Regions from separate parts of the Homo sapiens genome. Here region 2 is linked to region 1. Evidence: promoter capture Hi-C in human tissues and cell types (Jung and others, 2019). All regions are on one chromosome and are shown on one strand. Each heading gives the region's core, a stretch centred on a gene start or on the middle of the fragment in contact. The rest is flanking DNA. Distances are from core to core; before and after follow the strand shown. Region 1 holds the start of SLMAP (sarcolemma associated protein). Region 2 has its middle 28 kb from the start of DENND6A-DT.

Evidence for each region. The method cuts DNA at HindIII sites, captures the fragments that hold promoters and counts their contacts. A contact is called where the count stands out against the background at its distance.
Region 2: a fragment that was not itself captured here is called in contact with the fragment with the promoter of SLMAP in region 1 in 1 of the 25 tissues and cell types used here (pancreas).

The regions. Positions count from the first base shown.
Region 1 is chr3:57,752,682-57,759,459 of GRCh38, forward strand. SLMAP (sarcolemma associated protein) reads left to right here and starts at 3,628. Exons shown (of 25, transcript NM_001377540.1): 1 at 3,628-3,661; 2 at 3,867-5,168. The coding sequence starts at 4,971. RefSeq lists enhancers at 1-102, 2,734-3,636, 3,226-3,505, 3,536-3,715, 3,637-4,538 and a silencer at 4,086-4,365. The HindIII fragment of the contact is 9,488 bases long and covers 1-6,778 here.
Region 2 is chr3:57,717,468-57,724,245 of GRCh38, forward strand. No RefSeq gene overlaps it. Among named protein-coding and RNA genes, the nearest start is that of DENND6A-DT, 28 kb to the left of the region's middle. The HindIII fragment of the contact is 6,101 bases long and covers 1-5,643 here.

The DNA.
Region 1 (6,778 bases), core at 2,378-4,877:
ACTCCCAGCTTTCTCTTAATTGGTTTGCTTACCTATATTTGCAATCCAGGTACTCTGCTGAAACAGTTATGCAAGTGTTCCATAATTTATTATATACCAAGTGTATGTCATTGGTCAAAGTCCAATTAGATCATTATTAATTAGAAAGGGCTGCTTATTAGTAGAGTTTACAGAGTTGTCTCCTACACATCAGAAATGCTAATAATTGCCCATCTTTGATGGTACTAGGATGATAATTTTACAAGTCTGTCTTTGCTTTTATAAGATTGAAAAGTGGCTTGGATCATAGCAGTGGCAATACTCATCAGACTATAAAAAGGCAGAAACTTAAAAAGGGAGAGAACTACAAAATCAGGAAACATTGCCATTCCCAATTTCTCAAAATATGACATGTTTTTTATTTAATAAAAATTTTGTGTGGATACAGAATCACAGAGAGGAACACCCACATGACTTAGAATTCAAAGTATCTCATGTATGAGATTTCTTAATTTAAGCCTTTTCTGTGCCTGCTGAATACCAGTGGGTGAAGAATGCCTTCAATGCCATTTTGGCATTTCTAGCACCCTGTGTAGCTTGATAGGATTCTTTATCCTGACATGTTATAGTAGTCCCAGCTTTTCTTGTAGAAGAAAGTCCACTCTGCTTAACATTAATTTTAAGAGATATTATAGTAGAACTGAATATAAACAGACTTTTTTTGTTTCCATATGTATGATTAAGTTTCTCTATATACAAACTAGAGATAAAACAACTTGCTCCTTACTATATGTGGAAGGCTGGGGGAATTCTTTCTATGAGCAATAATGATAAATATTAACATTCTGTGAGTGTCTACTATTTCCCAGCCACCATGGTTGGCATTTTGTATTCCATTGTTTTATTTAATCCTAAGAAGACTCTGTAAGGTATTATCTACCTTTTTCCTTCCCCCTTCCCAACCCCTTTTTTTTTTTTTTAAAAAAAAGACTAGTCAAGTGCAGTAGATATATGCTTTTTTTTTTTTCAGATAAGGAAGCTGAAATTTAGGGAAGCTAAATAATTTACCATTTATGGTGCTGGTAAAAGTATGCCATGTCTGATTCCAGCACCTTGACTTTCATTACTTCTCTTTGATCTTCTAGGAGGAAGATGGAAATGTTCTGAAGTCTGGTGCATTGCCTAGAAGTCCTTCAGCAACTGAAACCTCACTTCTGTCACTCTTTCTCCTCGTTTTCCCTTATCTCTTATGCTCTGGTGATACGAACCTACTTGCAATTCCCTTAAAGTCCTGTTCTCTCAAGTCTCTGGACTTTTGTTGGGATTGCTTCTTAGCTTAAAATTTCTTTATCCCAATAGCATCAGACTAGCTGTTCTAATCCTTTCAAGTTTCAGTTTAAACTACTCTGCCATGTTTCCACTACTCTTGACATACTCCATTACAGCAAGGATCTTTCTGTGTCATCACCTAAATCGAGCAACTTGAGGGAGTCTTTTTGTTTCTTCATTATTGTATTTCCAGGACCTTTCAAAATATCTATTTCACAGTATCAATTAAATGTTTATAGAATGAATGTATGAAAGAATGCATAAATGACTTGCTATTCGTGCAAAAAAAACTCATTAGGGATCTGTGGAGGGTCCTATCTTATTTTATTCCTTAACAGCCTAAAAGTTATCAGAAGTGAAAACTTTTCATCCTCTCATAAGAAAGCTTTCCAACATATCCTCATTTTGAATAGCATACCTGGAACACAGTGGTAGCTTGACACATATTTGTTGAATTGATGAAGAGCTTGAAAAACGAATATAACGTCTTTATTATATAATGCCTATTCTTTCCAGACTCACTTTGTGTCCCGCCTACTTTATCCTCTAATAATGAGTAACAGTATGTAATTTTCATTCATGCATCAAATACTTATTTATCCACTATTATGTGCCGGCACATTGGTGCACTGTTTCAAGTAGGCTCCTTCTTTTCCTTGCTATCCGTGTTTGTGGAAATTCATGAAACCATTCAGCGAATACCATATTTATTGTGGTTTTCCTATCTTCCTTCATTCAGTTCAGTTACTTCTCCCAGACCATCCCTGACCCCTTGGGCAGCTAGTGCCTGCCTCTATCTTAGCCCTGATTACATCAATTTCATGTTTGTCACTCCCTACCCTCATTTCTAACCCACAATACCGTTATGATCTCAGAAGGCAGGAATTGAAGTTTGGTTCAGTTATGTGTCCCCAGGGCCCAGCAAAAACCTAGGACACGGCCAAACTGTCTATATAAGTATTGAGATGAATAACTGCTACTTTTTCTTTCTTTCTTTCTTTTTTTTTTTTTTTTTGGAGAGACAGTTTCACTCTTGTTGCCCAGGCTGGACTGCAATGGCGCGATCTTGGCTCACCGCAACCTCCGCCTCCCGGGTTCAAGTGATTCTCCTGCCTCAGCCTCCCAAGTAGCTGGGATTACAGGCATGCGCCACCACGCCCGGCTAATTATGTATTTTTAGTAGAGACGGGGTTTCTCCATGTTGGTCAGGCTGGTCTCAAACTCCCGACCTCAGGTGATCCGCCTGCCTCGGCCCCCCCAAAGTGCTGGGATTACAGGCGTGAGCCACCGCGCCCGGCCTAATTGCTACTCTTTATTGAACAACATGGATTAACATTTTGAAGTCTCACCACATCAAGTGAATTAACTATTATTAACATGTCATCCATGAGAAAAAAGAGGCTTGAAAAAGTTTAGAAACTTGCTTAAGGTCACACAGTGGTGGAGCCTGTTATTGCAGGAATCTGAAGAATGAAGTCACCTTTGATTCTAAATGAGTAAGTCTCCTTCTCACTATTTTTTCTTAAAGTTTTCATTTAGCCCTTGCAAAGTCTTCCTTCTTTAGACCAATGACTCCTCATCTTGATATTGTAAGTGGGGGAAATACCCTCTTTTTTCACTTTGGAAATTATTCAATCTCTCTTTGGAAGAAACATGATTTTAAACTTTCTGGACGCTCCTTCTGTGGAAGAATCCGCGCAGGAGCCCTGGGGGCACATAATAGGTTCAGTGAGAAAGACTGTCATTCGAAATGGAATGCGGGAACTAAGATTTTTTTTTTCCGGGAAGAAAACATAACGAATTTAGCAGAGGGGAGAATGGTCCTTCTGTTAGGTGCACAAATCCTAAGACTTCAGGGAGTTTGGCGGCTCACACTTAAGGTAGCTGCGGGTGACTGTGTTGCCCACAGCTAAGATGGCTGCTAATGACCATCTCCTTTGGCTGGGTCTGTTCTTTTGCTCGCTAGTATTTTCATCGAGAATTAAACAGAATAAAATTTAGTAAAAGTTGGCACCCCCTTGCTAAGTAGATAAAATAAGAAGGTGGCACTGTTTGTTTGAAAAACCTTCTACGGCGCAAATTGTTCTTGCCCTTAACCAAAATGGTCGTTAAGGTTGTCCCGAGGTTTGAAGCTTCCAGCCCTTAACTAAGATGGCGCCTGGAGGCCCGTTAAAAATTACCTTGCCCTTTTTTCTGCCCTCTACCAACACGGCTTCCGTGGCGTCGTTCACGTGACATTCCTGGACTACGGCGCGGGAGAGGGGGTAGGAGGGCCCTTGAAGGGTGCGCGTTCCCGTGGCGGTGCACCGGGTAGGTTTCAGTCAGAGTCACTATGGCGGCCGGCGCTGGCAAGGTAAGCTGAGGCGGTGGTGGCGGCTAGGGAGGTAGGACCCGTCGTGGCGTCCTGGCTCCAAATCCTCGTAGCCTGCTTGCGGAGAGGTCGGCGGAGGTCGTGCCTAGCGGTGTGGGCTGGCGGGGGTCTGGCTGGAGGGGGCGACGGCTGAGGCGGGCGGGCTGAGGCGCCTGACGGCCGTTTGTTTTGATGTTTTCCCCACCAGGTCGGAAAGTTTCCTGCCTCGTCGGGCGCAGCTTGAGCTTGCCCCATCGGCCGCGATCGGTGGAGGCTGCGGCGGATCCAGCCCGGGGCCTCAAGGCCTCTCCCCAACCTCCGGGCCAGTCTCCCTCCCCCACCTTCTCGTCCGCCGGGAGCTGCGGCTGCCGTCCCTGAGATGCGACCCTCGCGGGGGCGACCCTGAGGGGAGGCGGCCCATGTGCTGAGCGGCGGCCCAGAAGCCTAGGCGTCCGGGGACCAACTTCCTGCCGCCTGGGAACTCGAGCCTCCCGGTGTCGCGCCTCGCTCGGTCCGCACCGGCCTGCGGAGCCGGGTCCCCGCCCTGGTCGCGGGGACGCTCGCCAGGTGCCCAGGAGTCCCGACTTGGCCACTGCCCGCGCCCCGCCGGCCTCCACGCCTCGCGCGGAGAACCTCAGCCACCGCCGTCTCGGATCGTGCCAGGCCGGGGACCGCGTCCCCCTTCCCGGGGCGGCCTCCGCTCAGCAGGGGCGATGCAGACTGTCCCGCCGGCCGTCTAGAGCCCCTCCGTCTCCGTCACCTCTCGCCCCTTCACTCCGGGCGAGGACTGGCGGTGGCTGCCCAGAGGTGCCCAGCCACACCTTCCTTCGGCCCAAAAGGACTTTCCTGGCCGCGCCGAACCGACCCTTCATTCATGCTGCAGTGCTGCAACGTTTCCGCCACCAAGGGGGAAAAGCGGCCGCGATCTCAAACCAAACACAAGAATTGGCGTGTGACTCATCTGCTTGGATACCTCCAGTCCCCAAACTGTGTTCCAGGAGTTTTCTTGGCCGAAGCTGCCCGATGTTTGAGCCTTTTCTTCCCAGAGAAGAAGATGGACTGAAAGCTGCCAGTTGGGGACTTTTTGTGATCACGGCGTTGCAGCGTTTTAAAGGAGGTGATGGGGCTTGCGCTGGCTTGTCTTCCCACCCAAGTGAAGAGTTGATGTTCACTGGTTATGCTTAGACAATGTGCAGTTTGTGTTAATTTAAAATTTTGGGTGGGATAGGGGCATAGGCTTGTGAAGGGCAGTCCGGATCCGGAGGAACTCCTCTTTGTCCCTGGTAGGAGAGACACCCCCAGTCTATCCTCGATGCCGTCAGCCTTGGCCATCTTCACTTGCCGCCCGAACTCGCACCCGTTTCAGGAGCGTCATGTCTACCTGGACGAGCCCATCAAAATCGGCCGCTCAGTGGCCCGCTGTCGACCAGCGCAGAATAATGCCACTTTTGATTGCAAAGTGCTATCAAGGAACCACGCTCTCGTCTGGTTTGATCACAAGACGGGCAAGGTAATGTCACCACATTGTCCAGCGGCATTGTTTAACAAACTTTTTTTCCCCTTTTGCCCTCCCTGAGAGGACTAATGTATGCAGGATCCCAGGGTTTGCATCCAGAGGAGGCTTTGCGCAAAGCCACGAATCAACTGTTTGTGTGCCTGGTTCTAGTGGAAATTTGATTGAGGTGGTTGAATGGAAAACAGAGAAGGTATTGTAATTAAAAGCCTCAGGAGGGCTATGGCATCTTGATAACGTGGTCATTCCCAGTGAAATCCCAAACTAGATAGTGAAACTTGGCGTCTTGCTTTTAGTCTGTTTAGAAAGGTGAATTCACAGTTCAGCGCTTTATTAAGCAAGCAGCAGTTCTCGAAGCAATTCGGGGAATCCGTGGCCATTATTATCCCGGGGCTCAAGTGTCTTAGTGGTGAAATGTAGTTAACACATAGCTTTAGGTGAGTTCAGATCAGGACCTTTCTAGTAAGGATAATTGCTGATATAAACCTAAGATTTTTGAAAGGTTTGATACATACTTGCCCTTGGAGGAGTAATTTGCAATAATCAAAGCTAATTTAATTAAGCATGAACAACTGTAACTTTATATATTTTCAGAGTTTTTTTTACAAGTTGGAGAACATACACATATTGCGTTTGAAAATCACTTTTTGATGTTCCCTGCAGCACTTATTAAGTACTTAATGCATACTTACAGAGGTGCTATTCAAAAGTTAGTGTTAGGAAATAAACTTACTTTCTGAAATTATACCCTATTCTGTCAATTATAGCATTACTTAAATGTGATACGATGAATTCAGTGCTTTTCATTTTAAGCGTAACCAATTTAGTATTTTTATGTTAGTATCGTAAGTTACTATACATGTATGTGCTTTTATTTTAAGAAGTGAAGAAAGAAATTAAGATCCTTTCCATTTTTAAAAACTGTTTATTTATGTTTGTGGAGAGTATACTAAAGAGCTCATCTTTGTGCCTAAACCTCAGGTTTTTAGCTGAGCTACTGAATCAGTTCCAACTTTAAGTTATGTAAGACTAATAGGACTGTCTCAGGTTTCACCTCCTGACTTTTTGCCCCTCTTTCTGAGTTAAATAATTAAATCTTTCTTAAAGGAAGAACTTAAGTCTTCAAGAATATGTTTTGAAATGAAAGAAACCTGAGCCTCAAAAGGAAGAGAAAAAAATGATACTTCGGCAGCTACTGATTTAAGGAATTATTTTGTAAATTATTTTTTAAAGAAAGGAGGAAAAGATTGTCCAAGTGCTGTGTGCTGCATAATATCTATACTTTACGTGTAGGATGAGAACTGAAGAGTATGTTAACTTTTCTGTTTAACACCAGATCCTCATTTACCTGTGGAACAGACCCTTCACTCGCTCCTCGCAAGCTGAAGTTAGGGTGCCTAAAATACTTCATAGATTACTCGTAATCCTTTTTTTTTTTTTTTGAGACAGATTTTTGCTCCTGTCACCCAGGCTGGAGTGCAGTGGCGCTATCTCAGATCACTGCAACCTCTGCCTCCCGGGTTCAAGTGATTCTCCTGCCTCAGCCTCCAAAGTAGCTGGTATTACAGGCACACGCCACCATGCCTGGTTAATTTTGTATTTTTAGT
Region 2 (6,778 bases), core at 1,343-3,842, 36 kb before region 1:
CATTTAACATTCAGGATACACTAAATATACATGAACACTTAATATTTATGAAGTCTTAATTCAACTACTCATTGGTAATAACTATTCTGGTGCATGTGTCCTCTGCCCAAAAAACACAAACTCATAACCTGAGTAAAACCCATAGTTGTTCGGCAAGTTAATTGGCAAGCGACTGCTGTAGGCCAGGTGTACGTGTTCCTCCTGAGTCCTTCTGGTAGAACAAGTGTATGCCACTGACTCAGGGCACCTTCTGTCTGTGGGCACCTTTGCTTAAACGTCAACTTTGGTCCATCAACAGAGGAGGTTGATGCCAACAGAGAAGGGTCATACCAACATTGCATAACCCAGGATTTATGTAGTGTGAACCTTCTATGTTGTTTGCACCCTTCCCTAATTGTGTGTTAACTTACCCCATTTCTTTCCTTTTGCTTTTTGCTGTATGTTTTAAGTTGTTTTTTTGTTTTTGTTTTTGTTTTTTTTGAGATGGAGTCTCGCTCTGTCACCTAGGCTGGAATACAGTGGCACCATCTCGGGTCACTGCCATCTCTGCATCCCAGGTTCAAGTGATTCTCCTGCCTCAGCCTCCCTAGTAGTTGGGATTACAGGCATGTGCCACCATGCCTGGCTAATTTTTTTTCTGTATTTTTAGTAGAAATGGGGTTTCACCATGTTGGCCAGGCTAGTCTTGAACTCCTGACTTCAAGTGATTCACCCACCTTGGCCCTCCAAAGTGTTGGGATTACAGGCGTGAGCCATCATGCCTGGACTAAGTTGATTTAATAAACTGTATGTGATTCAAGCATTTTAATTTGGTCTGTAAGACCTTGTGTCCTTTGATCTTTGGGATAGCCTGCCTGATAGTGTAATTGAAGTTTACCATTGCATCAGGGTAATTTCCCACACAACAAAAGGCCTTAAAATAGGAAAAGCTCAATAATATGTTCCAGAACTGCAGTAGAATAGCCATTAGCCACATTTGGCTATTTAAATTTATGTTGATTAAAATTAAGAAAAAAATTAAAAATTCATTTGCTCAGGTGCACTAGCCACATTTCAAGTGGTCAATAATTATGTATGGTTGGTGAACACCAACAGACAACTGAACAGTGCAGAAGAACATTCCTATCATCACATAAAGTTCTATATTTTTAGTAGAGATGGGGTTTCACTGTATTAGCCAGGATGGTCTCGATCTCCTGACCTCGTGATCCGCCCGCCTCGGCCTTCCAAAGTTCTGGGATTATAGGTGCATCACATAAAGTTCTATTGGACAATAATGTTCTAGAAACTTAGAGGCCAGTGTGGCTAGAAGGTGATACTGAGGACAGTTGGCAAGAGATGGGTTTGGAGAGGAATGCAATGTCAATGTCATGCAGGGAATTGTGCCCCATGGTAAGAGTTTGAATTTTAGTCTAACATATATAATCTGGTTTATATCTTAAGAAGATTCGCTCTAGTTATTGGCTGAATAATAGGTTGGAAGGTGTGCAGAATATGGTTAATAGTAGGTCCAATAGCAATCCTTTGAAAATCTAGCTTAGGCTGGGCGTGGTGGCTCGTGTCTGTAATCCCAGCACTTTGGGAGGCCGAGGCGGGCAGATCACCTGAGGTCAGGAGTTCAAGACCAGCCTGGCCAACATGGTGAAATTCCGTTTCTACTAAAAATACAAAAATTGGCCAGGCGCGGTGCCTCATGCCTATAATCCCAGCACTTTGGGAGGCCGAAGTGGGCGAATCAGGAGGTCAAGGGTTCGAGAACAGCCTGGCCAACATGGTGAAACCACGTTTCTGCCAAAAATACAAAAAATTAGCTAGGCATAGTGGTGGGGGCCAAAACAAACAAAAATTATTAGCTGGGTGTGGTGGCATGCGCCTATAATCCCAGCTGCTTGGGAGGCTGAGTCAGGAGAATTGCTTGAACTCAGGAGAGGCAAAGCCTGCAGTGAGCTGAGATTGTGCCACTGCACTCCAGCCTGGGCAACAGAGCAAGACTCCATCTCAAAAAAAAAAAAAAAAAAAGAAAGAAAGAAAGAAAAAGAAAATCCAGCTTAGCTGGGGGCAGTGGCTCACACCTGTAATCCCAGCACTTTGGGAGGCTGAGGTGGGAGGATTGCTTGAGTCCAGAAGTTCGAGACCAGCCTAGACAACATGATGAAACCACATCTCTACAAAAAATTTGCCAGGGCTGTGTGTGGTGGCTCATACCTGTAATCCCAGCACTTTTGGAGGCTGAGGCGGGTGGATCACTTGAAGTCAGGAGTTCAAGACAAGCCTGGCCAACATGGTGAAACCCCATCTCTACTAAAAATACAAAAAATAGTTGGGTGTGGTGGCACACACTTGTAATCCCAGTTGCTCAGGAAGCTGAGGTAGGAGAATTGCTTGAACCCAGGAGATGGAGGTTGCAGTGAGCCGAGATTGTGCCACTGCACTCCAGCCTGGGCAACAGAGCAAGACTCTGTTTCAAAAAAAAAAAAAAATTACCCAGGAGTGATAGTGCATGCCTGTAGTCCCAGCTACTCAGGAGGCTGAGGTGGGAGGATTGCTTGAGCCCAGTAGCTCAAGGCAGCTGTGAGCTATGATCATGTCACTGCATTTCAGCCTAGGCAACAGAGTGAGACCCTATCTCAAAACAAAAAAAAAAAACAAAAAGAAAGTCCAACTTACAAGGGTGGTCCTTGGCTGGAACTTGGATCTTGGGAGGGTTTACACCACCCAACTGACAAGAATGGCTCATTGTGTCTAAACTGTATGAATGCTGTGCTTTATGCTTATCTTAGTCTATATGCAGGCTGATAAAACAAAATAGCATAAACCGTTTCTGTTCTTATAAACAACAGAAATTTATTTCTCACAGCTGTGGAGGCTGGGATGTCCAAGATCAAGGCACTGGTAGATTCAGTGACTGGTGAGGGTCTAGTTCATAGAAGGTACCTTCTTACTGAGTCCTCACATGGTAGAAAGATGAGGAGTCTCTCTCAGACCTCTTTTATTAGGGGACTAATCCCACTCTGCTCCCATGACCTAATCACATCCCACAGATCCCACCTCCTAATAACATCACCTTGTGTGTGAAGTTTTCAACATATGAATTTTGGAAGGATGTAAGTATTCAGACCACAGTAATGCTGAACACCTGCTTTCCTTTGCGGAATCAGGGATTTTGGTACATGTGAGGAATCAGGAATTTTGGTACATTTTGCATAGGCAGCGGGTGCCTATGCAACTAGCTCCCATAAAATCCTGGGGTGTGGCCAGGCGCAGTGGCTCACGCCTGTAATCCCAGCACTTTGGGAGGCTGAGACAGGTGGATCACGAGGTCAGAAGATCGAGACCATCCTGGCTAATATGGGGAAACCCCGTCTCTACTAAAAATACAAAAATTAGCCAGGCGTGGTGGCAGGCACCTGTAATCCCAGCTACTCAGGAGGCTGAGGCAGGGGAATCGCTTGAACCCGGGAGGTGGAGGTTGCAGTGAGCTGAGATCGTACCACTGTGCCACTGCACTCCAGCCTGGGTGACAGAGTGAGACTCTGTCTCAAGAAAAAAAAAAAATCCTGGGGTTCTGGGTCTTTAACAAACTTATCTGGTTGGCAACATTTCACTTGTATTGTCACAACCCATTGCTGGGAGAATTTTTTTTTTTTTTTTGAGACAGCCATTTCCCAGGCTGGAGTGCAATGGCGTGATCTTGGCTCACTGCCACCTCTGCCTCCCGGGTTCCAGTGATTCTCCTGTCTCAGCCTCCCAAGTAGCTAGGACTATAGGTGCCTGCCACCACACCCGGCTAATTTATGTATTTTTAGTAGAGACGGGGTTTCGCCATGTCGGCCAGGCTGATTTTGAACTCCTGACCTCAGGTGATCCCCCTGCCTCAGCCTCCCAAAGTGCTGGGATTACAGGTGTGAGCCACTGCTCCTGGCCGCTGGGAGAATTAAGCATGTCCCGTGTGATACCAGTGGAAGAGAACCTTTGGAAGCTTGGGCCTCGTTTCCTCTGAACTTTGCCCCATATGAGTTTTTCTTTTGCTGATTTTGCTTTGAATCTTTTTGCTGTAATAAATCACAGGTGTGAGTATGACTATATTCTGAGTCCTGTGAATCTCCTTAGTAAATAATTGAAACTGGGGGTGGTCTTGGGGACCCTGATACAGAGGAGGAGAAAATAACAATGAAGTGGGAAGACTTTGAGAGGCAATTTCAATAATTCAGATGAGAGACAACGATGGCTTGGACTAGAATGGTGACAAGATGAAGAGAAGCATAAAGATTTTCAAATATTATCATTGTTGTAGAAATACAGGCATAGAAAGGAAATCCTCAGCTGATATAGTGATGGGAAATTTGGTTCTTTGTCTCCAATTCCCCACTCCTTTTTGGGTTTTAACTTTGATTCAATTTACTAAGTATTTACATGCCTGCCTGTAATGTTCAAAGGATGAAACCACCCACATGTAGCTCATCTTCTTCACTTTCCATATCCACAAAATGTGTAAGTTTTTCCCTTGAACAGCTCTCATTTCTATTCCTTCTGTCTCTTCTCCATTGCTGGTCCCACCGTTGTATCTCTTGAGGTTCAAATTAATGCATCAATTCAGAAAGTCAGTCTTCCTAATATCAGGTTCTCACATCCTTAGCCACATCAAACATGTTCTAATTTTCCTTAATTACCAATCCATTCCCATTGCCATCACATTAAATTCCTTTTCCCCAGTTTCAAGGCTCTCCATAATCTAGTTCCATCCTATCTGGCTTAACTTCCCATCCTAGCCTTCCCTGATACTTTTCCTCCTCTCCCCGGGGCTCCACTGACCCAGTGTGATCCTTCTTACCCCAGGGCTTTAGTCATTCACTTTTATTCTTATTTTTTAGTAGAGATGAGATCTCGCTTTGTTGCCCAGGCTGGTCTCAAACTTCTGGGCTCAAGTGATCCTCTTGCCTCGGCCTCCCAAAGTGCGGGATTATGGGTTTGATCCACCCTACCTGGCCTCATTTACTTCTTATACTTTTCTCTCTCCTTATCTCTCTGATTCATGCAAGCCCCATTTTATTCATAAAGACTTTCTTTTCTTTCTTTTTTACTTTTTTGTGTTAGGGTCTCACTCCATCACCCAGGCTGGAGTGCAGTCATGACTCATGCAGCCTCGACCTCCTGGGCTTAAGTGATCCTCCTGCCTCAGCCTCCCAAGTAGCTGGAACCATAGCCATGTGCCATCACACCCATCTAAATTAATTTTTTTTTTGTAGAGATGGGGGTCTCCCTATGTTGCCCAGGGTGGTCTCAAATTCCTGGGCTCAAGCAATCCTCCTGCCTCGGCCTCCCAAAGTGCTGGGATTACAGGCACAAGCCCCCATGCCCAGCTTCCATCTTTACTTTGAGTTTCCTAAATCAAATTAAATTTGGCATTGGCTTCATCTGCCTGTCTCAGGTAATGACCAATATTCTCGTGTCCCTCCCTCCTTGAAGTATACATAAATCCTGGAAATTATGGACTCCATGAAAATTGAATGAAGAAGCATGGCCTCTGGTTTATCATTTTATGGCTTGGAGATATTCACTGGCCTCATTTTCTGTTTGAATATAAGCAGCTCTTTTGAGGGCATCTACTTCCTTTAGATCACTGGGACTTTAACTGCAGGTTCTATGGCCACTTTTCTTAGAGTTGAGGGCCCAGGCACCCATACACAACTTCAGTGGTTTTGTACCCACCAGGACAGAACTGTATTGGATCAAGACTAGTATCTCTGGACTGGCGCAGTGGCTCACACCTGTAATCCCAGCACTTTGGGAGGCAGAGGCGGGCAGATCACCTGAGGTCAGGAGTTTGAGACCAGCCTCAACATGGAGAAACCTCGTCTCTACTAAAAACACAAAATTAGCCGGGCATAGTGGCACATGCCTGTAATCCCAGCTACTCAGGAGGCTGAGGCAGGAGAATTGCTTGCACCTGGGAGGTGGAGGTTGCGGTGAGCCGAGATCGCGCCATTGCACTCCAGCCTGGGCAACAAAAGCAAAACTCTGTCTCAAAAAAAAAAAAAAAAAAAGACTAATATCTCCATTAGTCATAGACGTATATGCAATCTCATATTAGCTTCTTTTATATGGGTAAGATTTTTCTTTCAAGTTAAATTGTTTTGTAATTTATGCTTTTGTATGCCTTACTGTGCTGAACATGGTAAATCCAATAAATACTTGTCGATAGGCACAAAGAAGAGAATGCACAGTTTCTGCTTAAGGGAATTTACAACTGGCCAAGGAAATACAACCAAGAAGGGGAGGCTCAGATATGACCACAAATTAAGGAATTGTAAGATAACTAAAATGAGAATTTAAAAGGAAAGAAGTATTATAGAGGATCTAAAAAGACAAGATTGGCCGGGCGCAGTGGCTCAAACCTGTAATCCCAGAACTTTGGGAGGCCAAGGCGGGCGGATCACGAGGTCAAGAGATTGAGACCATCCTGGCCAACATGGTGAAACCCTGCCTCTAACTAAAAAAACACAAAAAAATTAGCTTGGCATGGTGGCACGCGCCTGTAGTCCCAGCTACTTGGGAGACTGAGGCAGGAGAACTGCTTGAACCTGGGAGGTGGAGGTTGCAGTGAGTCGAGACGGCGCCACTGCACTCCAGCCTGGAGACAGAGCAAGACTTCGTCTCAAAAAAAAAAAAAAGACAAGTTTATATCTTGCTGGGGTTTCAGAAAGGATACATGGAGAGGGACACATTATAGAATGCTTTTGAAGCCTTGAGCCTCTTTGAGAGAGAAAAGAAGATGTGT